Linked DNA regions of Homo sapiens: region 1 is linked to region 2. Evidence: promoter capture Hi-C in 16 types of primary human blood cells and fetal thymus (Javierre and others, 2016). All regions are on one chromosome and are shown on one strand. The core of a region is centred on a gene start or on the middle of the fragment in contact, and the rest is flanking DNA. Distances in the headings are between cores, read along the strand shown. Region 1 overlaps ADGRG2 (adhesion G protein-coupled receptor G2). Region 2 holds the start of SCML1 (Scm polycomb group protein like 1).

Region 1 (5,375 bases), core at 2,349-4,848, 1.3 Mb before region 2:
GAAAAGATTGTATAAATTAAGATCCAAAGCAAATCCAATCTAGAAATCAGTGAATTCCAGCAAATCTGGAATTTGCTCAACAGAAAATATTGATCGTGAACATTAGGGAGAAAAAAAAATCTAGTGAATTAAAAAATAATTATTTCTATCTGGGAATTTTTTGAGCAATAAAATTGATGGGCTGGCTGCCTCTTCAATGAAGCAACAGTAAAATTTTTAGAATTGATTTTCTATTGAGATTATGCTTTTCATTTCCCAAAGTAATTTTTAATATTTACCTTGGTAATTTTTAAAATCTCAACTCAATCCTTTCTCCACAGGTCCTGGTTGTCAGTTGCTTTATTTGTTAGTAAGCCAGACTTTGTGTATAAGCTTTAGCATACATTTGGTTGTAACATACATTTGTTTATTTTGAAGTGATTTTCACATATACCCGGTTGGGTAGTAGAGCAAATAGCTCATTTTTTTTTTTTAAGAAAATGAGAAAAATGAAGTACTGTTTGAAAAGCTACATTCCTTTTGCATGAATACCACCTTTGCAGTATCTGGGCGACACGGGAGTCTGTATTCAGAAAATGGCAGTACACATAGTTCAATCATTTTCATGGAGTGAAGAACAATTAGTCATTACAACACAGACTATTTGTGTTCTTGTTAAGACAGTGTGAGGCTCTGAATCACTACCTAATTCTATGGATATTTATAGACATAATCAAATTAGCTTGGCCTTTAGTTCTAGGAGAATATAGGTTACTTTTAACCCCACAGTCATTTGAAGGACAAATGTAAATAATCCAAATGAAAATACATGTTATCACACCAACTGGTGGAAGGTGACTTCTCCATAAGATCCTGAAGTGAGAAATCAGTTGCTTAGGACTTGTTACACTGTGATCTGTCTCTTGCGTTTGAGCTTCAACATACTGCCCTGTTTTTCTGTAATGCTTATTCTGCTGTAGACTGGAGTAAAACTGCTACTAATGGTTTAAAGAAGCAGACTGTAAACCAAGGAGTGTCCAGCTCTTCAAATTCCTTACAGTCAAGCAGTAACTCCACTAACTCCACCACACTGCTAGTGAATAATGATTGCTCAGTACACGCAAGCGGGAATGGTATGTATGTCTCAATATAGTATTTCTCAAGCTAGTGTTTATTTTTTAAAATAGTTTTATCCTTTATTGGCATTTTGGCTAAGCAAAGTGAGTAACTATTAATACATATATGACTAGTGGATCAAAATGTGGTTCCCTTACAGAAGAGAAAGTTTACTAATCCAAATTGATTTATTATAGAGCAAATACTGGAACAACGATTTTTTAAGATTTGGTTTTTCATAGTGGGAATTGATGATGACCTAAAAATTTTAACATTTTAAATCCTCACTTAACTATTGTCCAAAGACTTCAGTATTGTGCTATTTCTGTGAGAGCAGTACCTAAAATAGCTGATAAGACTATAGCAATTTTTATTACATCTATCATAATATACATGTTCAACATTTTTTTTTTTTGAGATGGAGTCTCACTCTTGTTGCCCAGGCTGGAGTGCAATGGTGCAATCTCAGCTCACTGCAACCTCCACCTCCTGGGTTCCAGCAATTCTGCCTCAGCCTCCCGAGTAGCTGGAATTACAGGTGACCTACAGGTGACCGCCACGATGCCCAGCTAATTTTTGTATTTTTAGTAGAGACAGGTTTCACCATGTTGGCCAGGCTAGTCTCGAGCTCCTGACCACAAGTGATTTGCCCACCTCGGCCTCCCAAAGTGCTGGGATTACAGGTGTGAGCCACCGCGCCCAGCCAACACTTTTAAACCTTCCTATTTTTTGCTTTTCATGTTTGTTAATTCTTTCCCACAATGTGGCTGTCTTGTGACAGCACCCAAATCCCCATGAATATGTCAAAATACTGGAAGATGACTTGTGACCAGTATTGGTGACCATATATGTGACCAATATCTGAACAGATTATTGCTGCCATGCCTCCTTTACTCATTAATTCTGACATTTCTAGCTAAAACTTCTGTTACATTTTCTTTCTTTCATAAGACCAGGCTGTTCATTACTCATAAAAGCTTACCTTATCTATTTTTACCTTCTCTTGCTTCTTAATATATCTTTTGCATTCTTATAAAAACATAAGCTCTGCTGGTATAGTTTCTCCTTCCATGGAGAATTTGCCTGTATTCATTGTTTTAGGATGTTAGTTCTTTTCATGACTAACTCAAATAAATTTGTGAGAAGGTTCATACATCTACCAGTTTTCCCGTTTCCTGAAGATGGGCAGTCCTGCTGGTGTGTCTAGACTTTTTTTTTTTTTTTTCTTTTTTTTTATGACAAGGTCTCCTATTGCCCAGGCTGGAGTTCAGTGGTATGATCACGGTTCACTGCAGCCTCGACCTCCCAGGCTCAAGTGATCCTCCCACCTCAGCCACCCGAGTAGCTGGGACTGTAGGAGCATGCCACCATGGCTGGCTAATTTTTTTTTTTTTTTAAGATGCAGTCTTGCTGTGTTGTCCAGGTTGGTCTCAAACTCCTGGGCTCAAGTGATCCTCCCGCCTCAGCCTCCCAAAGTGCTGGGATTACAGGTGTGAGCCACTGTGCCCGGCCTGTCTAGGCTTTTAAAATACCATAGGATGCCTCAAAATCAAGGTTTCTCAACTTCAAGCACAATTGACATTTTGGGGCTGGATAATTCTTTTTTGTGGAATTGCAGGACATTTAGCAGGATCCCTGGACTCTATCAACTAGAGCCAGTAGCACCCTGCCCCCAGTTATGACAACCCAAAATGTCCCCAGACACTGCCAACTGTCCCAGGGGAGCGGGGAGAAGAAGGGAGCAAGATTGCCCCCAGTTGAGAATCACTGCTGTAAAAGATGAGAAATAACTGTTGTATAGCCTTAGCTCTTTACTGTCGATACCAGAAAGCAAGCTCTGGGCTCTACACCAAATAGCTCTATCAGGAATGATTCAATGTAGGTAAACAGAGGCGAGGCAGCGGGGAGCACAGCTGGTTAGTACGTTAGTGTGAGAAAGCAAATTGAAAGGAGAGACATCAAAGGAGCGAGCAGGGTCATCTGGGGCTCTGAATCCATAAACCAGATTTGTCCATATTCTCGAAAGAGCTCAGAGATGAAGCCTCACCTGCCTAGCTCTATCAACATGTTGTCATCCTTTGGGAAATCAGATTTCATGGAAACAGCACATTTTACCACAGTTGTTTAACACAGCTGATTTGACACAGCTACTTTTGATGCTTGACGGTGAGGATGGGGGTACATTTTAAGGCTGCCAAAATGGCTCAGTGTTTAATATCACATAATATGCATGTCAGATAACCATTCCTGACTCCTCAGTCCTTGCCCCAGCATCTGGGATAGATGAGGAATGGAATTGGCAATTTCAAAAAAGAAAGCTAGGGCTGGGCGCAGTGGCTCACACCTGTAATCCCAGCACTTTGGGAGGCTAAGTTAGGAGGATCACCTGAGGTCAGGAGTTCAAGACCAGCCTGGCCAACATGGAAAAACTCCATCTCTAATAAAAAATGTGAAAATCAACCAGACGTGGTGGCACACACCTGTAGTCCCAGCTACTCAGGAAGCTGAGGCAGGAGAATCGCTTGAACCCAGGAGACAGAAGTTGCAGTGAGCCTAGATCTCACCACTGCACTCCAGCATGGGCGACAGAACGAGACTCCGTCTCAACAACAACAAAAAAAGCTAGAAGTTTAATGATTTATTATGCCAGACCAAATTGTTCTTGCACCAAAATGTCCTCAAGCCGAAATGCCTAAATCCAAACAGCTGCCTCAGACAGTCACATGCCCTATTTGATCTGTGTCACAGATGGAGCTACGTTAACCATATTCATCACCTAGTTTGCATGAATATTACACAGTTCAGTTCTGAGCTGCCTTAGAGGGTGGGGTACCAGCAGCCATCTCATTTGGTACCCAGGACCACAAGGATCACAGTTTGGAAGCAACATCACACGTCAACTCCATTACTTCTGAGCTGTGTGACCTTGGGGAGAGCACTTAATTTCTGAAACCTTCGTTTCCTCATCTGCAAAATGGGGATAACAGTAGTACCCACCCTGCAGGGCTCTAAATGAGATAATAAAGTGTCCCAGTACTGTTATGATCATTGTTATCATAATCATGTCATGAACTATCAAATGGGCTTATTATTCAGCTTTGTGTATAGTCTCCCAATGGTCTAATGATCAGAAGGATGGTGCCAAGTAACTAGAGGAGGCCAGCACCTGTGCTCCCCTATAACTCAGGGCCTGCTTGGGGTGGGGAAGGCCCACGTCCAAACCAACAGTTACCCTTGAGTGCCCAGCTGCTCCCTGGCCTGGACTCTGAAGTTGGAATTGGTAGTTTCCTCTTGGGAATTTGTCCTGTCCTGATTTAGTCAGAGGAGCTGGTTTAATCTACAAGAGAGATGATTTCTTCTTGCCATGACTGTTGTAGCTGGTTGCTCTGGTTTCTCTGGTACAAAGTTTCATTTTATAGGAACCTAGGGAACCAAGAACTTCCTAAGGGTACATATGGGGATCTCTGTTAACATTAACCTTTTGGGAGACCAAAGTATTACCTTAGCTTATATTATACATATGCTGCTACTTGAAGTCAAAACATATCCAACCAGAGTTAGGAAGTGGGCCTTTTATTAATATATTACCTTGCTTCAGATTTTGACTGTTTCATTAAAAACCAAACAAAAAAAAAACTGCCATAGAGAACTGGTTTCTGAAGCAATCTCCACTTTGGTATGCTTACTTTGAGTGGCCTTAGGGAAGTAATGAAAAATAAATAAAATATGAACATATATCACAAATGTTTTTAAAAACATATTTTACAAATACATCTTTAAGAATAAAGCAATGTCTAAGTTTGTTTGCTTTTTAATGCTTTCTGTGGATACTTCATGCCACCCGCTTTGTGTTTCCTTATACAGGAAATGCTTCTACAGAGAGGAATGGGGTCTCTTTTAGTGTTCAGAATGGAGATGTGTGCCTTCACGATTTCACTGGAAAACAGCACATGTTTAACGAGAAGGAAGATTCCTGCAATGGGAAAGGCCGTATGGCTCTCAGAAGGACTTCAAAGCGGGGAAGCTTACACTTTATTGAGCAAATGTGATTCCTTTCTTCTAAAATCAAAGCATGATGCTTGACAGTGTGAAATGTCCAATTTTACCTTTTACACAATGTGAGATGTATGAAAATCAACTCATTTTATTCTCGGCAACATCTGGAGAAGCATAAGCTAATTAAGGGCGATGATTATTATTACAAGAAGAAACCAAGACATTACACCATGGTTTTTAGACATTTCTGATTTGGTTTCTTATCTTTCATTTTATAAGAAGGT
Region 2 (5,720 bases), core at 3,083-5,582:
AGGGGTGTCCAAGGGAGGGAATATAGTCATGGGTTCTTAGTTTGTTTCTGGTTGGGCCAGGAAAGCCCCTTCCTCATCCCTCTTTTCCACTTATCCCTAGAGACAGAAACTAAAAAGCATAGCTTCAGGCTGCCGAAAGCCTAAAACAAAACAAAACAGAACAACAACAATGACGACAACAACAAAATAAGGCGGGTTGGACAAGCTTGATTTAAGTAATTTGCCCAGGTCCCATTGCTAGTAAATGGTGCAGTCTACCACCACACTCTATGCACTTTACTTCATTATTAAAATCACCTGGTATACCTTTGCTACCAATAACACAGTAAAATCCAAACTCCTACCATGGCCTGCAAGGTCCTTCCATAATCAGGACCCCGCCCACTGCGCAGAGGTCACTTCTTACCACTTGCCCCTTTACTCTAAGCCAGGGGTCCCCAACCCCTGGGCAACCGCCTGGTACTGGTCCTTGGCCTGTTAGGAGCACAGCAGGAGCTAGCAAGGATTATCGCCTGAGCTCCGCCTCCTGTCAGATGAGCTGCAGTATTAGATTCGCACAGGAGCACAAACCCTATTGTGAACTGCACATGCGAGGGATCTAGGTTGCACTCTCCTTATGAAACAGTTTCATTAGGAAACTATACCCCGCTAGCACTCCCCCGTCCCTGCATCTGTGGAAAAATTGTCTTCCACAAAACCAAAACCGGTTCCTGGTGCCAAAAAGACTGGGGACAGCAGTTCTAAGCCTAAAATATTTACTGTGTAGCCTGTTTCAGGCAAGTTTGCAGACAATGGTTACAAGCTCTTACATCCAGAGAACAGAGAACTCCCTATTTGGATTAATAACAATGTTGTCAAAATTTGGCTGTAGTTAGACACAGGAGCACTGTGCAGTGAGTCCACCACTGGACTCCCAACATGTTTACATCTCTGGTACATATACAAATCAACACCAATCTTTCACTCTTTGAGCTTCTCGCTCCTGTTATGCCCTCCGTCCATAATACCCTGTTGTGTCTCCGCCTAGGAGAATCTATTCAACTTCAAGGCTTACTTCAAGTTTCACCTCCAAAAAGCAAGGGCACCATGCCAATGATCATCCCATGTGGATGTGACACGGCTTTCCCTGAACTACAATAACACTCACACTTTAATACTTCTACGGCAACTGTCACACATATCTGGTTACATGAGAGGCAGCATCAAACAGCATTAAGACCTTAGGCTTGTGGTCAGAATACCTGGGTTTGGGTCCCACCTCCCCCACATACTAGCTGTGTAAGTAAGTTGAACAACTTACTTAAATCCTTTTTTTTTTTTGTCTGTAAAATGGGAATGATAATAGCACATACCTCACGGAATCGTGAGGATTAAATTAATACATGTCAAGTGCTTAGAGTAATGCATGGCAAAGATAGCAAGGGCTTTTGAGTATTGACCGCATCTATCCAACAGAACTATTTCTCAAGGAGCACATAGACAACAAGCCTGGGTCATAACGTCATTTTCATTCACATTGCACCTGAAGTGAGTTTTTATGTCTTTTAGGTACCAGGGTATGATGCAAGGAGCTGGGCTTTAGTTATAAACACTTGAATCCAAGTCCAAATTGCCAAATTTGCCGTTTCACTTTAGGCAAATATTTCACCTCTCTGTGCCTCAAATTTTCTAACCTGTAAAGTTGGAATAATATCTACTTCACAGGGCTATTTAGGCCAAAAATTACACAGTTAAACTCTCAGCATCATGCCTGGTTCATAGTAGACACACCATAAATTTTAATTCCTTTTCACTTCTTCCCATAAGGCAAACAATTACAGCTTTACAACATTGCCTTAGAGCCCAACCATGACTAGAATGTGCAAAATTAATTTCATTTTTAAATCTCAAATCCCACAAAATGAGTTTACTTAAAATGAAACTCATTTATATTTACCACAGAAATCTAAATTTCTTTTTTTTTTTTTTTTTTTTTTGAGACAGAGTCTTACTCTGTCACCCAGGCTGGAGTGCAGTGGCATGATCTCGGCTTACTGCAACCTCTGCCTCCCGGGTTAAAGCAATTCTCCTCCCTCAGCCTCCCGAGTAGTTAGCGTAACAGGCTTGCACCACCATGCCCAGTTAATTTTTGTACTTTTAGTAAAGACTGGGTTTCACCATGTTGGCCAGGCTGGTCCCGAACTTCTGACCTCAAGTGATCTGCCCACCTCGGCCTCCCAAAGTGCTGGGATTACAGGTGTGAGCCACCGCGCCTGGCCAATTCTTGATAACACCATAAATTTAAGTTCCTTTTCACTTTTTCCCACAAGATAAATTACAGCTTTACAACATTTTCTCAGAGCCCAACCATGACTAGATTCTACAAAATTAATTTCACTTTTAAACCTCAAATTCCACAAAAATGAGTTTAAAGGAAACTCATTTATATTTACCCCGGAAATCTAAACTCTTGATAATACCACACATTTTAGTTTCTTCTCACTTCTTCCCACAAGATAAATAATTTCAGCTTTACAACATTTTCTCAGAGCCCAACCATGACTACACTGTGCAAAATGAATTAATTTCACTTTTAAATCTCAAATCCCGTAAAAATGAGTTTACTTAAAATGAAACTCACTTGCATTTACCACAGAAATTTAAACTCTTAATTACACCATATACCTTAATTCCTTTTCACTTCTTTCCATAAGATAAATCACAACTTTACAACATTTTCTGAGCCCAACCATGACTAGATTGTGCGAAATTAATTAATTTCACTTTTAAATCTCAAATCCCATAAAAATGAGTTTACTTAAAATGAAACTCACTTGTATTTACCACAGAAATTTAAACTATTCATTACACCATACACTTTAGTTCCTTTTCACTTCGTCCCACAAGATTAATTACAGCTTTACAACATTTTCTCAGAGCCCAAGGCTAGATTGTGCAAAATTAATTAATTTCACTTTCAAATCTCAAATCTCGTAAAATGAGTTTACTTAAAATGAAACTCACTTATATTTACCACAGAAATCTAAACTCTTGATAACATAAGAACAAGAGGCCGTCTGATTTTCTAAAAGACTTTTTTTAGACATTAAAGACATTTTCAAAAGTCGTAAATATTCGCTCCGGAGGCGCAAGGCTTTCACCTGCCATTAATTCATCAGATAAGGCACAGCTCACAATGAGGCGCCACTCCCACCGGGACCACTTTGAGGAACACACAGCAAAACGCTCTGTTTGTTTTAAGAACAATCACTTTCTAAACCTTCCTGCGGGACTCTCAAAGGCAGCCCTTCCTTTGCCGCCAGAACCGCATCCCATCGCCCAGCACTTGCCGCAGGCCGGACAAGTGAGGCCCAAAAGGGCACCCAGCCCACGCCCCGCTTTAGAAAACACCGCGCGGCAAAGCTGCTTGGAAAATCGCTATCTTTTAGTCAACCTGAAGCCAGTTTGCCGCACTCGGGGAGAGCCGGGGAGAGGAGGGAGGGACGCGATCCGCCACCAACCAAATCAGGGCCTTTCCTGTTAACGACCACGCGGCAAGGGGGCCGGGCCCTCGCACGCCTCGACGGCCTCCCCCACTCCAAAGGGACTCCGATTTCGCAGGATCTCCCGCCTCCCGCCTCTGCTCCCAACACCCTACGTTTTTCTCTTCCTCCTCATTTACGTATTTACAATAAAACAGCGAAGCTGCACAGTCTGTCTCTAAATCAAACGCGGTTACCATCAAAGCCTCAGACTCTATGTCTCAACCGCAAAAGGTCTGACAGGAAATCAACTCGGGAGTTTGTCAATTCTTTAAACTCAAAGCTCTGTTAACGAAATCTGGATCCTTCCTCGCTCCCCACCTGCCTCCCCTGACAGGAGAATGACTGTAAAAGGATCCTGTCGTCCCCGAAAGTCAGCACCAAGCACTTCACAAATTGTCAAATCTCAAAAGCTTACACGCGCGGGCACTCCGGAAAGGCTGTGGGGACCACCCAAAGCACCCCCCTCCACACCGCGGCTGAAATTGGAGGCTGCGAAGTCAAGACTCGCTCTTCCCCGCAAAGCAAACCCTCTCTCCTCAGGAGAGCCCCGGCCCCTAAGCCAAATCGTGTATTCCCGTGACGGAAAGTTCAAGGTGAGGAAAAAGTACGACTGGACAGACCTATTTTAGTGACAGAGCCTGTCACGCCGGCCTCCGGAGGTCGCGGTAAAACTGCTCGCAGTAGTCCTGCCTCTCCGATGGGCGACAGCTGTGACCGTTAGGCCACTCGACGCTTCGGAAAGGTCCTGGCACCGGAAACCGGGCCTGGTCACGCGCACGCGAGACCAGTGATGCCCTGACCCCTGAGTGGATCAGAGAGCTCCCGCGACGCCGAATTCCCACACTCGCGGTTGGGGGGGGGGGGGGGGGGGGGGGGGGCGGGACTACCCGCTGACCAATCGGAGTCTGGCCACTGACAGGCGTCACCGTTGATCGGCCAATCCGCGGGTGCTCTCCCAGTCCTTGGGTGAGGGCGGGAATTTGCTAAGGAGATGGCTGTGGGGCGGGGCCGAGGGCGGGAATTTGCTGAGGAGATAGCTGTGGGGCGGGGCCGAGGGCGGGAATTTGCTGAGGAGATGGCTGTGGGGCGGGGCCTCTTACCTCAGGTTTTCCTTCGCAAGACCCGCAGGATTGAAAATGGACGTTAGGCCTTTCAGAGACTCGCGCGCTGAGTGGTTTCTGCGGCTGCGCAGGAGGCTGGCGCGCATGCGCAACCCTTCTAGTGGCGTTGTAGTTAGGGACGTGGTGTCCCCCCTTCGTTGTTGGGGTGTCCGAAGCTTTTTTTTTTTTTTAATGTGATCCCGCCCCTCCCCCGCGCTCTGTGACGCACCAGAGACGTCGTCGTAAACTGGGTTTCCTGGACGCACGCCAGTGATTGACTTGGAATGAGGAGAGGGGCGGGGCCTTAGCAGTTGCCCTGAGCCAGGTCTGGTAGGAAGGGCGAGGGGGGCCAGGGTGGGGGGCGGGCAAGATATTTCCAGTCTCCAGCACCCACAAGTTGGACTGGGGAACTAACGCAGACCTTGAAGGCAGATTTACTGGATTGGACCCCCAGCTCCAACACAGTCCTCCTATGGCCTTAGGCAAGCCAAGTAACCGCTTTGTGCTTCGGTTTCCCCATCTGTAAAATGGGTATAATATGGGGACTACATGAGTTAATGTATGCAAAGCACTTAGAACAGTACCTGGCATAGAATTTTGCTATTGTAATAAAGGCTATGTGACATCATCTAGTGGCATATAGTCTTACATACTTATATCGAGGCTGCTCATCTTGGGAAGGAGACACAGTCTGAGTAATTATCAGAAGCAAAGCAGGCAGATATTTCAAAGTAAAGCTATACATCTTTTCTTGGCCCAGAGAGGAGCTACAAAGAAAGTATACTGGACGTTGGAAATGTATCATTTTTCCTCTCAAATACGAAGCTAGATTAAAGCCCATTATAGATATAGTATATGTTTTTTTTTTGTTTTTGTTTTTGTTTGAGACGGAGTTTTGCTCTTGTTGCCCAGGCTGGAGTGTAGCGGTGTGATCTCGGCTCACTGCAACCTCTGCCTCCTGGGTTCAAGCGATTCTCCTGCCTCAGCCTCCAGAGTAGCTGGGATTACAGGCGTCTGCCACCATGCCCAGCTAATTTTTGTATTTTTAGTAGAGACGGGTTTCACCATGTTGGACAGGCTGGTCTATGTTCTTTTT

The links. Contacts are between HindIII fragments. The CHiCAGO score rates a contact against its expected background, and 5 or more counts as called.
Region 1: a fragment that was not itself captured here is called in contact with the fragment with the promoter of SCML1 in region 2 in 1 of 17 cell types (total B cells); the score reaches 5.4 in total B cells.

The regions. Positions count from the first base shown.
Region 1 is chrX:18,990,633-18,996,007 of GRCh38, reverse strand. It overlaps ADGRG2 (adhesion G protein-coupled receptor G2), which reads left to right. Exons shown (of 29, transcript NM_001079858.3): 28 at 960-1,112; 29 at 4,960-5,375. The coding sequence ends at 5,144. All of the region lies in intron 2 of LOC101928415 (a long non-coding RNA gene), which reads right to left. Among named protein-coding and RNA genes, the nearest start is that of PHKA2, 9.2 kb to the right of the region's middle. The HindIII fragment of the contact is 3,047 bases long and covers 2,075-5,121 here.
Region 2 is chrX:17,736,105-17,741,824 of GRCh38, reverse strand. It overlaps SCML1 (Scm polycomb group protein like 1), which reads right to left and starts at 4,332. Exons shown (of 8, transcript NM_001037540.3): 1 at 4,145-4,332. The HindIII fragment of the contact is 866 bases long and covers 3,937-4,802 here.